Linked DNA regions of Homo sapiens: all the other regions are linked to region 5. The links are contacts of gene promoters, found by promoter capture Hi-C in human tissues and cell types (Jung and others, 2019). All regions are on one chromosome and are shown on one strand. The core of a region is centred on a gene start or on the middle of the fragment in contact, and the rest is flanking DNA. Distances in the headings are between cores, read along the strand shown. Region 1 has its middle 20 kb from the start of CAMK1D. Region 2 overlaps SEC61A2 (SEC61 translocon subunit alpha 2). Region 3 overlaps CAMK1D (calcium/calmodulin dependent protein kinase ID). Region 4 has its middle 56 kb from the start of CAMK1D. Region 5 holds the start of OPTN (optineurin).

Region 1 (2,700 bases), core at 118-2,617, 770 kb before region 5:
ATCAAGTACTTACCCAGGATACATGTATGTAGGCTGGGTACAGGCGCTCATGCCTGTATTCCAAGCATTCTGGGAGGCTGTTGTAGGATCACTTGAGGCCAGGAGTCTGAGACAAGCCTGGGCAACATAGTGAGACCCCCATCTCTACAAAAATAATTTTAAAAAAATTAACTGGGCATGGTGGCATGCACCAGTAGCCCCAGCTACTCAGAAGGCTGAGGCAGGTGGATCCCTTGAGCCCAGGAGTTCAAGGCTACAGTGAGCTGTGATGGCACCACTACACTCCAGCCTGGGTGACAGCAAGATTTTGTCTCTGAAACATTTTTTTTTTTTTTGAGACTCACTCTGTCCCCAGGCTGGAGTGCACTGGTGCCATCTCAGCTCACTGCAACCTCCACCTCCCTGCTCCAAGTGATTCTCCTGCCTCAGCCTCCTGAGCAGCTGGGATTACAGGTGAGCGTCACCACACCCAGCTGATTTTTTATATTTTAGTAGAGATGGGGCTTCGCCATGTTGCCCAGGCTGGTCTCAAACTCCTGACCTCAGGTGATCCACCCATCTTGGCCTCCCAAAGTGCTGGGATTACAGGTATGAGTCACTGTGCCCGGTCTGAAACTTTTTTTTTTTGAGACAGAGTTTGCACTGTCACCCAGGCTGGAGTGCAGTGGTGCTATCTCGGTTCTCTGCAAGCTCGGTCTCCCGGGTTCACGCCATTCTCCTGCCTCAGTCTCCTGAGTAGCTGGGACTACAGGCGCCCACCACCAAGCCCGGCTGTTTTTTGTATTTTTAGTAGAGGTGGGGTTTCACCGTGTTAGCCAGGATGGTCTCCATCTCCTGACCTCGTGATCCGCCCACCTTGGCCTCCCAAAGTGCTGGGATTACAGGCGTGAGCCACTGTGCACGGCTGAAACTTTTTTTTTTAAACCAAGCTTTGAACTTGGACTAAGGTGGTTCCAGAATGGTGATGCCCCAAGGCTTGGCAGATACAGCTAAAAAAAAAAAAAACCCCAAAAACAAAAAACAAAACAAAAAAATCCCAACATGTATTTAAAGATAAAACCATATCAGAAAACTGCACTCTTGGGGATCAAGATCAAATCTTCATATCAGCATCTACTGTGCAGAAGATCCTGTTTCCCTTTGTTAGTTTCTAAACCTGGTTGTTAGATTAATACAATCATTCTTACTTCATTTTAATTTTTTACTTGATATGATTTTTTTTTTGAGACAGAGTCTTGCTCTGCCACCCAGGTTGGAATGCAGTTGCACAATTTCGGCTCACTGCAACCTCCACCTCCCAGGTTCAAGCAATTCTCCCGCCTCTGCCTCCTGATTAGCTGGAATTACAGGCATGTGCCACCACACCCGGCTAATTTTTGTATATTTTAGTAGAGACGAGGTTTTGCCATGTTGGCCAGGCTGGTCTTGAACTCCTGACCTCAGGTGATCCGCCTGCCTAGGCCTCCCAAAGTGCTGGGGTTACAGGCGAGAACCACCGCGTTCGGCCCCTTGATATGATTTTGAACAGGATCTTTATCTTCAGTGAAAGGCTGATATTCCATTTCTTTATGGAAACAGTCTTGACTGTTTGGGCACTTGGGCTGTTTCCAGTTTTGGGCTATTAGAGATAATGCCAGCTTCTTTGTCAGCTGACGTCAGTGAAAATGGTGAAATGTGTCTATTGTCAAACCTTGACACTGTGTTCAGGCCCATTTCAGAAGTATCTTTCGGTGCTTGAAATTTGGCATCCTCTATAGTATAAACAAGATTAACAAAAATTGATTCCTTTGCCTCCCAAGGGAAAAACTCAGGCTATTTCCAAAGGAGATCAAAGAAGGATGTTCAAAATGGAATTCAGAGTCACTGTGGAATCTTAATGATAAACTTTGGTATTTCCTTTGACCAAAATTATTTTAATAAATGCTCTAGCAAACATTGCCACTGGTACATTTTTTTTTTTTTTTTTAACCAAGGAGTGATTTAGAAATGGTAAGGTGATTTACCTTAAGCCATAGAAGCTGGGGTGCTGACTGACTCATTCTGTATTCTTCTGCAGCTTTTTAGATAAAGAATTACCATAATTTTTTTTTTCTTTTTGAGATGGGGGTCTCACTCTGTCACCCAGGCAGGAGTGCAGTGGCACCATGATGGCTCACTGCAGCCTTGACCTCCCAGGCTCAAGCAATCCTCCCACATCAGCCTCCCCAGTAGCTGGGACCAAGGCACATACCATCATGCTCAGTTATTTTTTTGTATTTTTGGTAGAGATGGGGTTTTGTCACATTGCCCAGGCTGGTATCACTCTTGGCCTCAAGCAATCCTCCCACCTTGATCTCCCACAGTGCTGGAATTACAGGTGTGAGCCACCATGCCTGGCCAAGAATTACCATAATTTTATAATCAGAACAACTGAGTAACCGAAGTATGCTTTTATTTCATGCTCAAATAAAACTGATCAAGTCATCTTGTTTTTCAAGTGAAAATTCCTGACAACAACAGTAGCTACTATTTATTGACTGCCTTTGGTTTAGGTATTTTACAGTCACTCACTGTCTAATGTTCTTAAAACAACCTGGCAAAGTAAATACAGATGCTCTCTGACTTATATGATTGGGTTCTGTCCTGACAAACCATTGTAAGTTGAAAATTATGTTAAGTTGAAAATGCCTTTATTTCTTTAATTAATTATTTATTTGAGAC
Region 2 (2,700 bases), core at 162-2,661, 960 kb before region 5:
TTTATGAAAAGTAAAGAAACTTATATTTAGGAAGTTCAGCTGTTTGTTGTAGCTGCTACTGAGGTGAAAGGGACATTAGAAAACAATCTAGGCCCGGCACAGTGACTCACACCTGTAATCCCAGCACTTTGGGAGGCTGAGGCAGGTGCTCAAGAGATGGGGACCATCCTTGCCAACATGGTGAAGCCCCGACTCTACTAAAAATACAAAAAAATTAGCTGGGCGTGGTGGCGTGCGCCTGTAGTCCCAGCTTCTCGGGAGGCTGAGGCAGGAGAATCGCTTGAACCTGGGGTGGTAGAGGTTGCAGTGAGCCGAGACTGCGCCACTGCGCTGCAGCCTGGGCAACAGGGTGAGACTCTGTCTCAAAAAAAAAAAAAAGAAAAAAAGTCTACCTAGGATAGTACTTCAAAAAGGGGCATTTAAGAGTGAATAATAGGATGTCACGATGGGGAACTTTAGTTACGTTTTTGTGTGGATTTGTGCTTTAAATTTGCTGTTTCGAAAACCAAACACCACATGTTCTCACTCGTAAATGGGAGCTGAATAGTGAGAACACGTGGATACAGGGAGGGGGAACATCACACAGGGGCCTGTGGGGGTAGGGGGAAAGGGGAGGGAGAGCATTAGGACAAATACTAATGCATGCGGGGCTTAAAACCTAGACGACAAGTTGATAGGTGCAGCAAACCACCATGGCATATGTCTGCCTATGTAACAAACCGGCACGTTCAGCACATGTATCCTAGAACTTAAAGTAAAATTTAAAACAATAATAATAAAATAAAAATATTTAAGGTAAAAATTTTGAAGTAAAAGAGAAACTGAAAAATCTAGATTTGAAAATTCTTTCCTCAGTAAAAGTAGATTTAAAAAAATATAAGCTTAATTTTTTAGAACATATTTCTCTTTTTAAATTTGTATAAATATAAGTAGCACAAATGCAGTTTTGTTACATGAATGTATTATGTAGTGGTGAAGTCTGGGCTTTGAGTGTATCCATCACCCAGATAACGTTCATTGTACCCATTAAGTAATTTCTCATCATCCATCTTTTCCTGCCACCCCTGTACCCTTCGGAGACTCCACTTCTGTCATTCCATATTCTATGTCCATGTGTACACATTGTTTAGCTCCTACTTTTAAGTGAGAGCCCACAGTGTTTGACTTTCCACTTCTGAGTTGTTTCACTTAAGATAACCTCCTCCAGTTCGTTCCATCCAGGTTGCTGCAAGGGACATGGTTTCATTCTTTTCATGGCTCAGAAGTATTTCATTATTTATATACAGCATATCTTCTTTATCCAGTCATCAAGAAGCATCTGTGCATGTGTGTCTGTATATATGTGTGCGTGTGTGTATATGTATGAGAGAGAAAAAAATGTTTGTAAAACTTTGTACCTAATAAACAAAAATGCTTCCTTTATAACACATAACGGACATTCCCAATTTCTGTGAATTAGGCCCCAAAGAATAACCTCAAAACTCTGCTGCCCCCCAAAAATTTGCTGTTTCTTGGTTTTGATTGATGATTCTTTACATTTTGTTGTACAGATCCAGTTTAGAGAGAAGGTTCTGTGGACTGCTATAACGCTCTTCATTTTCTTAGTGTGTTGTCAGGTATGTAACTATACTATTAAATAAATGTCTGCACCATTGTTCTAAGGTTTTGATTGGTTAGAATTTGAGAATTTTTTTTGTTAAAATAAAGAATACATTGAGCTCAATATATTGAGCATTATTATCCTTTTTATTTTTTATTATTAATTTTTTTTTGAGATGGAGTCTCACTCTGTTGCCCAAGCTGGATGCAGGGGCATGATCTCGGCTCACCGCAACCTCTGCCTCCTGGGTTCAAGTGATTCTTCTTCCTTGGCCTCCCAAGTAGCTGGGACTACAGGTTCCTACTACCATGCCCAGCTAAAGTCTCGCTCTGTTGCCCAAGCTGGATGCAGGGGCATGATCTCAGCTCACTGCAACCTCTGCCTCCTGGGTTCAAGTGACTCTTCTTCCTTGGGCTCCCAAGTAGCTGTGGGACTACGGGTGCCTACCACCATGCCCAGCTAATTTTTGTATTTTTGTTTTATTTTATTTTTTGAGATGGAGTTTCACATTGTTGCCCAGGCTGGAGTGCAGTGGTATGATCTCGACTCACTGCAACCTCTGCCTCCCCAGTTCAAGTGATTCTCCTGCCTCAGCCTCCCGAGTAGCTGGGATTACAGGTGCATGCCACCAAGCTCAGCTAATTTTTGTATTTTTAGTAGAGATGGGGTTTCACTATATTGACCAGGCTAGTCTCGAACTCCTGACCTCAAGCTATCCACCTTCTTCAGCCTCCCAAAGTGTTGGTATTATAGGCGTGAGCCACCACGCCCAGCTGAATTTTTGTATTTTTAGTAGAGATGGGGTTTTGCTGTGTTGTTCAGGCTTATCTCGAACTCCTGACCTCAGGTGATCTACCTGCCTCAGCCTCCCAAATTGCTGGGATTACAGGCGTGAGCCACCACACCCTTTTTTATCTGGCAATTTTTTGTTTTTAAATAGAGACGGGGTCTATGTTGCCCAGGCTGGTCTCCAGCTCCTAGGCTCAGGTGATGCTCCTGCCTCAGCCTCCCTAGTAGGTAGGACTGCAGGTGTGCCCCACCATGTCTGGCTAATTTTTCAATTCTTTTGCAGGGAAAGGGTCAAGCTAAAACCAAATTTT
Region 3 (2,700 bases), core at 126-2,625, 660 kb before region 5:
AAAAAGGAAATGTGTATTTTTCAAGTTATAAAAGACAATCTCTTTGATGGTATAAAATGCAGCAGTAATAATTCTTCAAGTCTTATTAAAGAATTCAAATGGACCAAAACTCAGTAAAATGTTAACTCTAGGCTCAAGGACCTATGAAGGTAGTCTTTCTTAATAACTTGTTTTTCTTAAAACTTTGAGGCCGGGCGCGGTGGCTCATGCCTGTAATCCCAGCACTTTGGGAGGTCAAGGCAGGCGGATCACGAGTTCAGGAGATGGAGACCATCCTGGCTAACATGGTGAAACCTCGTCTCTACTAAAAATACAAAAAATTAGCCAGATGTGGTGGCAGGTGCCTGTAGTCCCACCTACTCAGGAGGCTGAGGCAGGAGAATGGCGTGAACCCGGGAGGCAGAGCTTGCTCTGAGCTGAGATTGCGCCACTGCACTCCAGCCTGGGTGACAGAGAGAGGCTGTGTCTCAAAAACAAGCAAACAAAAAAACTTTGATTTCTCTTAGACGTTATATGGAAATGGAATTTTATTCTGTGAATGTTTTATTTCAGATAGACTTGCAAAGCCCTTCTATACATAGACACTGTTTTTAGTTTTTTTGTCACCCCAAACCTCAAAAATGCATCTCAGCTTGAAAGACTTTCTAGACTTTTCCTGAGTCCAAAGTCATCCTGCTGATATCATGGTTTAGGTTCTGAAAGGTTTTATATCGAGTGTTTTTTTCTTCTTTCCTAAGAAGGAAAGGATCAGAAAGGAACTTGTAACCATTGTTGAGCATTTTAGGAAAAGTGAAAACCGACTTCATCCGTTTCATTTGTAAGGAGAAGCATGTTAGATGTGAGTATATTTGGAAACGTCCAAAATTTAACCATGACAAGAGACAGCAGTGTGATGGCAAATTTCAGGCCAAAGTCTGGAATTTCTTTGCTTTCTTCCCATTTTATCTTGTCTTCTCATTTCTTTTACTTTTCTACTTCTCTTCTCTCACTATTTCTTTGCTTTCTAACGTTTCCCATCAATTTTGAGCCATTTTCTTTATTCCATCTACATATGAACTCACAGCAGTAGCAAAAATACTGAGCTCTCAGAAATATATTTATCCATGTATCTAAGGACTCTGGAAAACAGATTCAAAGATGTGAAGCCTCAGTAGTGAAACTGACTCGAGGAGGAAAGACGTTTATGTGCGGCAGATCTTCTCGGGGTTTGCCTATTTGTAAAATGTATTCAGTATTCATGGAACAGATATGATGGGTGCTCACTCTACACCAGGTACCATGGTCAAACAGAGAGGGCTAACCTATGTTGCCTCCATTCTGAGAATCTCTGCGGTGACACAGGAGGGGACAGAAACAAGGATAGAAGCTTGTAGTTGCAATATAGTGTCGTGATGACCTTCACGAAGGCACGAACCATGTGTTGTGCTCGTATAGTCGTGTTACAGGAAAGGGGTCCTGATCCAGACCCCAAGAGAGGGTTCTTGGATCTCACACAAGAAAGAATTCAGGGTGAGTTTATAGAGTAAAGTGAAAGCAAGTTTCTTCGGAAGGTAAAGGAATAAAAGAATGGCTATTCCATAGAGCAGCCCTGAGGACTGCTGGTTTCCTATTTTATTTTATTTTTTTTTTTATTTTTGAGACGGAGTCTCGTTCTTTTGCCCAGGCTGGAGTAAAGTGGAGTGATCTTGGCTCACTACAGCCTCCGCTCCCCGGGTTCAAGCGATTCTCCTGCCTCAGCCTCCTGAGTAGCTGGGATTATAGGCACCTACCACCATGCCCGGCTAATTTTTGTATTTTCAGTAGAGACGGAGTTTCACCATGTTGGCCAGGATGGTCTCGAACTTTTGACCTCAAGTGATCCAGCCACTTTGGCCTCCCAGAGTTCTGGGATTATAGGCATGAGCCACTGTGCCCAGCCTGGTTTCCCATTTTTATGGTTCTTTCTGGATGATATGCTAAACAAGGGACAGATTATTCATGCCCCCCCTTTTTAGACCATATAGGGTAACTTCCTGTCGTTACCATGGCATTTGTAATCTGTCATGGCGCTGGCGGGAGTGTAGCAGTGAGGACAACCAGAGGTCACTGTCATCGCCATCTTGGTTTTGGTGGGTTTTGGCCAGCCGGCTTCTTTACTGCAACCTGGTTTATCAGCAAGGTCTTTATGACCTGTGTTTTGTGCCAATCTCCTATCTTATTCTGTGACTTGGAATGCCTTAACCATCTGGGAATGCAGCCCAGTAGGTCTCAGCCTTATTTTACCCAGCTCCTATTCAAGATGGAGTTGCTCTGGTTCAAACGCCTCTGACAGTCAGGCATAAGAACCATGATGGAAACCTGCGTTTCCTTGGCCTCTGAGGCTTTGAGGAGGTGTATATGCTGATGTCGATGAAAAGAGTCAAACTCTGTAAAATATTTAAGGAGGTTTCTTCTGAGCCAAATATCAATGACCAAGGCCTATGATACAGCCCCAGGACGTCCTGTGAACATGTGCCCAAGGTGGTTGGGGTGCAGCTTGGTTTTATACATTTTAGAGGGACAGAAGTTAGAGGCAGACATCAGTCAATATCGTATTTAAGGTGTACATTGGTTTGGTCTAGAAAGCCAGAACAATTTGAAGCAGGGATTTCCAAAATCTCTGAATGCAAGTGCATTCAAAGAAAGGGATTTTGGAATAGATTTTGAATACAGGTGCATTCA
Region 4 (2,700 bases), core at 40-2,539, 810 kb before region 5:
TCTTGGCCAGGCTGGTGTCGAACTCCTGGCCTTAAGTGATCCACCCACTTTGGTCTCCCAAAATGTTATGATTACAAGCGTGAGCCACTGTGCCTGGCCCAAAGTATATGCATTGTTTCAAGACTTCTCCAAATTGCCAAATTCTTTCCTTTAGTGTCTTTTCCTCAAATACTTGCCAACAGTAGGCACTAGTCTAATCTTGCCTTTTATCTGATACGTTTTTCTGGTTTTGACATAAACTGGTGTTTTTACAGCACTGACAACTAGATCAATGTGCACAGAGTAAAGTAGAATTGGTTTTCAGTTCCAGGAGAGAATGTAGCGAGAGCTCCTTCCCCCAGGAGATGCTGGCGTAAGACAGAGAGCTGCGGTGTCTATTCGTGTTGATTTCTCCTTTTGTGCTCTAAAGACAAGCTTCTTGATCAGATAGGATCTGGGCATAATGAAGCCACCATCAGCCACATTTTATTCACATGCCGGCCTCTCAACTCTGCAGCTGTCTTATTTCTTGCTGCCCACACTTCCCGTGCTTTCTTCAGGCCCCAACAATCCTGTTCTTTATCCCTTCCTTCTTCTTCTCCAAACCTGTCCTCAGGAAAAGATCTGGTATCAGCCATTCCCACCTTGACAGAAATTGGAATCAAAGAGTGCATTCTTCTAGTTGTTTGCATTTATCTATTTATTTTTGTTTATTTGTTTGAGATGGAGTCTCACTCTGTGGCCCAGGCTAGGGTGCAGTGGTGCAGTCTTGGCTCCTGCCACCCTTACCTCCAGGTGATTCTCCTGCCTCAGCCTCCCGAGTAAATGAGATTATAGGTGTGCGCCACCATGCTTGGCTAGTTTTTTTTGTATTTTTAGTAGAGATGGGGTCTCGCCATACTGGCCAGGCTGGTCTCGAACTCCTGACCTCAAGTGACCCACCCGCCTTGGCCTCCCAAAGTGTTGCGATTACAAGCTTGAGCCACCGCGGCCGGCCAAAAGCATCGTTCTTAATGAAAAAAATATATCAACTGAAGGTTTGTTTTTTTTTTGTTTGTTTAAACAACCCCTATGTGTCAACCACATTAAGCCTGGCTTCGTAGCATTAAGATGCTCCTGACTACCTGGGGAAACTCAACTTTCCACATAGACCATTACTGAAGTGGCACTGAGCAGAAGACAGGAGGGGTGTCCACGTGGGAAGGGTGTGTGATTCTCCTTGTCAAGGGTTTCAGCATCGTTCTTCAGTATGCACCCATGGTACTGAAACCAGCCTAAGAGTCCCAGAGACAGTTGTTTCTGGATAAACATAGAAATGAATCCTTCTGCTGTTAAAGCTTGAAACTTGTATTTTTTTAAATTTGAGTTCCTTCCTCGGGAAAAGCCTTTCGGGCCTATAAAAAAGGTATCTGCCGGGCCCCTTGGTTCACACCGGTAATCCCAGCACTTTGGGAGGCTGAGGCAGGCCGATCACAAAGTCAGATCGAGAGTATCCTGGCTAACACGGTGAAACCCCGTCTCTACTAAAAATAGAAAATATTAGCCAGGCGTGGTGGCATGTGCCTGTAGTCCCAGCTACTTGGGAGGCTGAGGCAGGGGAACTGCTTGAACCTGGGAGGTGGAGGTTGCAGTGAGCCGAGATCACGCCACTGCACTCCAGCCTGGGTGACAAAGCAAGACCCTGCCTCAAAAAAAAAAAAAAAAAAAAAAAAAATAGTATCGGCTGGGTGCAGTGGCTCACGCCTGTAATCCCAGCACTTTGGGAGGCCGAGGTGGGCAGATCACGAGGTCAAGAGTTTGAGACCATCCTGGCCAACATGATGAAACCCTGTCTCTACTAAAAATACAAAAAATAGCTGGGTGTGGTGGCGGGCGCCTGTAGTCCCAGCTACTTGGGAGGCTGAGGCAGGAGAATGGCATGAACCCGGGAGGTGGAGGTTGCAGTGAGCCGAGATCCCACCACTGCACTCCAGCCTGGCGATAGAGCGAGACTCAGTCTAAAAAAAAAAGAAAAGTATCAAAGAACTGAAACTCAGGGATTCAGGGTAGCAGGTGCCTCCTTGGCACTCCCTGGTTCCTGTTTTCTTACACATTGTTACATTTCTTCCCTGCTGTAGTAAAGCCTAGTTTTAGTCAGTCAGGGAGATGGATTTGAGACTGAGCTCCCACCTCCTTGGTTGCAGCACCCAGTGAAAGCCTTCTTCCTTGGCAGTAGTTGAAATCTCAGAGAATGGCTCTCTGTGCAGCAAGGAACAGGACCTGGATGGAAATCCGGGGTTTCTCAGTAACAGCATGCTGGTCAACCAGTTCTCTATGGGAAAAGTAAGCCCACATTTGTATCATTTGCTGATATTCATGGTGTAAATACATGTGGCCGATTCAGGCTACTAATAGTATAACAACTGGCTCATGGTATTCCTGTTTACCAGCCAGTCACGATGGCTCACACCTGTAATCCCAGCACTTTGGGAGGCCGCAGCAGGAGGATCACTTGAGGTCAGGAGTTTGAGACCAGCCTGGCCAAAATGGTGAAACCCCACTAAAAATACAAAAATTAGCCAGGTGTGGTGGTGGGCGCCTGTCATCCCAGCTACTTGGGAGGCTGAGGCAGGACAATCGCTTGAACCCAGGAGGCGGAGGTTGCTATGAGCCAAGATTGTGCCGCTGCACTCCAGCCTGGGCGACAGAGCGAGACTCCATTTCAAAAAAAAAAAAAGTATC
Region 5 (2,700 bases), core at 169-2,668:
CTCACTCTGTCACCCAGGCTGGAGTGCAGTGGCATGATCTCGGCTCGCTGCAAGCTCTGCCTCCCGGGTTCAAGCGATTCTTCTGCCTTAGCCTCCCGAGTAGCTGGGACTACAGGAGAGTACCATCATGCCCGGCTAATTTTTGTATTTTTAGTAGAGACAGGCTTTCACCATATTGGCCAGGCTGGTCTCGAACTCCGGACCTTGCGATCTGCCTGCCTTGGCCTCCCAAAGTGCTGGGATTACAGGCGTGAGCCACCGCGCCTGGCCCTCCTGCACTGATATAAAAAGAATTTTTTTAAATTCTCTATTTCTCCCCACTCCCACCCCCAGGCTCACTCCTTATAAAGCAGCCTCTAGCCTCATCTGCCCCTCCTACACCACACCAACTCGAGGGCCCGGAATTGGGTCTGGGGCAGTCGCTGACTTGCTTGCTTCTCTGCCCTGCTCTTGGGGTTAGCCTCAGGGGCAGGGTTGAGAGTCAGGCTTGGCCAGGCAGCAGGAGGTCCAGACAGCGAAGCAGAATCCTTCGGAGATACCAGGAGAGGGCGCATCTGCCTTTTTCCTGTTTCAGATTAGGTTTTGTTGTTGTTGTTTTGTTTTTTTTCTCTCCCTCTCTCCCTCCCTCCCTCTCTCCCTCCCTCTCTCCCTCTCTCCGTCCCTCCCTCTCTCTCTCTCTCCCCCTCCCTCCTTCCCTCCCTCCCATCCCTGCAGCGCTACCCGGGTACTCTGGATGCACATAGGGCGGCTCTCGCTCCTACCTTGTCATCCTGCTGTCTAATCCGGGGGCAGCTTCCCTCCTCCACACCAGCAGAGGCTATTCTTCAGCAACAAGAATAGCCGAGCCTATTCGTCCGCAACAAGAGCCCAAGAAGCATCCTGCAGGCTTTCTGCTTTTTGAGTGTATTTTAAAGCAAAAACGAGTGGAAAGCTATGTATGCTCAGTTAACTATGTCTAGATGTTAACCTTTTTTCAAAAAACACAGATGGAGGCCTCCCTCCGAGGATGCCTGGCATTCTCCTCTTTCTGTGGGCGGCAGCGACCCCCTGCGGCTCCAGCCTCCACTACGGGATCTGCGGGAAGACACGGGGAAGACGAACTCCGCACACTGCATTTGATTAATGATTTATTTTGATTAACGCCGTCACAGTGACGCCTTAGAGCAGTCCCTGTTCACCCGGGTCCCAGCCTCGACCCCGCACGGACAGCGAGGGTGGGTAGCTGGGGGCGGACGCAGGAAAGAGGAGGGGCGGGGCCTTGGTCGGGTGGGGTATGGAATGGGCAGGGTGGGGGGGATGGGCGGGGTATGGGATGGGCGGGGCCCGGGAAATTCCCCGGCGCGGGCAGGGAGCGGCTGGCTGTCAGCTGAGCCGCGCTGGGCGGGGTCGCCAGGCCGCGCATCAGCCCTAGGCACCCCAGTCCCGGCTGCCCCCTCCGCCACCGCCGCCGCCCGCCGGCAGGTTCCCTGGTCAGCGTCCCATCCCGGTCGGGAGTTCTCTCCAGGCGGCACGATGCCGAGGAAACAGTGACCCTGAGCGAAGCCAAGCCGGGCGGCAGGTGAGCCAGGGCAGGGGGCTGCAGCGGTGGGCGAGGGGGCGGCGGCTCCTTCCCGGCGGGCGCTTCCGCGGCCTGAAAACGGTACCCGCCGCCCTGCCCCGCGGCCCGGAGCCTGTCGGGGTGAGGGTGGCGAGGGGTGGGGCGGCCCTCCCGCGAGACGGCTGCCCTGGGAGGATCCCCAAGCCTCGGCGGGTCCTGACCTGGTGGGAGAGGGTGGGTAGTGAACACAGGGTGGGCCCAAGAAGGGTCCAGGGCCGGCCTCTTGGCCGCAGGTAACCCCTCTACAAGTCACCCAGAGACTTGGAGGTGACGTCCTCCCGCAGGCTGGGAAGGATTCCGCAGCCAGTTCCTCGCCATAAGGAGGTGGTTACAGACACGCCTGTGGGAGACATGGGACCACTACCCGAGCTGAATGAGGTGCCCAGGGTCGGTGGGAATCCACATAGACTGCTGTGTCTAGGAGAGTGTGTACACTCTATATAGAGAGAATATTTGATGAGGCCGAGAACCCCAAAGGAATTGTTTTTGCCATCGAAATGCATAAGCTACAGGAAGTAAACATCGCTCAAAGAAAATGAAACCCAGGTTCCGACCTGGCCTCCACCAGCAGGAAAACTGTTGTATGGAAATGTACACCAAGGAACTGTTTGTAAGGATGAAATGGAAAATGAAAGCATAGAAAAGTAAGGCAATGTGAGGACCTCAGAAGCCTTTGGATCTGGTTAGCAAGGTGCAGGCTGTGTGAACAGAAGAACCCACCTTGCTCTTTTGACCCAGGGAGAGAAGAGTTAGTGGTGCCAGGCTGCCTCCCAGGACAGGCCCAGTTTTGGGGCGGGGGCTGGAGAAGTCCCAGGGCAGACCCCAAGGCCAGGGATTGCCCTGGAGTGGACAAGGCAAGTTTAAATGTGACCTGTAGACAGAGGACGATCATTGATTTAAGTCCTGGCATAATTCATCTGTTTTTCCACTGGGCCAATTTTAGGCGTTCTTTATATATTACGTACAACACAATAAAAGTAACAGCTTCTTTTTTTATAAACTAACCTTTAGGTTGCATATTATGCTAGGAATATAACTAACCTAACCTCCACCCCCCCACCCCCCCACCCACCCCCGGAAAACCAAACTTTATTCTCGAGGGC

The links. The method cuts DNA at HindIII sites, captures the fragments that hold promoters and counts their contacts. A contact is called where the count stands out against the background at its distance.
Region 1: a contact is called between a fragment that was not itself captured here and the fragment with the promoter of OPTN in region 5, in 2 of the 25 tissues and cell types used here (dorsolateral prefrontal cortex and mesenchymal stem cells).
Region 2: a contact is called between a fragment that was not itself captured here and the fragment with the promoter of OPTN in region 5, in 1 of the 25 tissues and cell types used here (heart left ventricle).
Region 3: a contact is called between a fragment that was not itself captured here and the fragment with the promoter of OPTN in region 5, in 1 of the 25 tissues and cell types used here (mesendoderm cells).
Region 4: a contact is called between a fragment that was not itself captured here and the fragment with the promoter of OPTN in region 5, in 2 of the 25 tissues and cell types used here (dorsolateral prefrontal cortex and mesenchymal stem cells).

The regions. Positions count from the first base shown.
Region 1 is chr10:12,327,916-12,330,615 of GRCh38, forward strand. It overlaps the pseudogene RN7SL198P. Among named protein-coding and RNA genes, the nearest start is that of CAMK1D, 20 kb to the right of the region's middle. The HindIII fragment of the contact is 7,709 bases long and covers 1-2,700 here.
Region 2 is chr10:12,134,555-12,137,254 of GRCh38, forward strand. SEC61A2 (SEC61 translocon subunit alpha 2) reads left to right here. Exons shown (of 12, transcript NM_018144.4): 3 at 1,551-1,616. Among named protein-coding and RNA genes, the nearest start is that of MIR548AK, 5.1 kb to the left of the region's middle. The HindIII fragment of the contact is 9,956 bases long and covers 1-2,700 here.
Region 3 is chr10:12,442,012-12,444,711 of GRCh38, forward strand. All of the region lies in intron 1 of CAMK1D (calcium/calmodulin dependent protein kinase ID), which reads left to right. Among named protein-coding and RNA genes, the nearest start is that of CAMK1D, 94 kb to the left of the region's middle. The HindIII fragment of the contact is 6,305 bases long and covers 1-2,700 here.
Region 4 is chr10:12,292,541-12,295,240 of GRCh38, forward strand. No RefSeq gene overlaps it. Among named protein-coding and RNA genes, the nearest start is that of CAMK1D, 56 kb to the right of the region's middle. The HindIII fragment of the contact is 5,976 bases long and covers 1-2,700 here.
Region 5 is chr10:13,098,745-13,101,444 of GRCh38, forward strand. OPTN (optineurin) reads left to right here and starts at 1,419. Exons shown (of 15, transcript NM_001008212.2): 1 at 1,419-1,558. It also overlaps a transcript of CCDC3 not described here. RefSeq lists silencers at 695-754, 1,225-1,794 and an enhancer at 2,075-2,204. The HindIII fragment of the contact is 16,289 bases long and covers 1-2,700 here.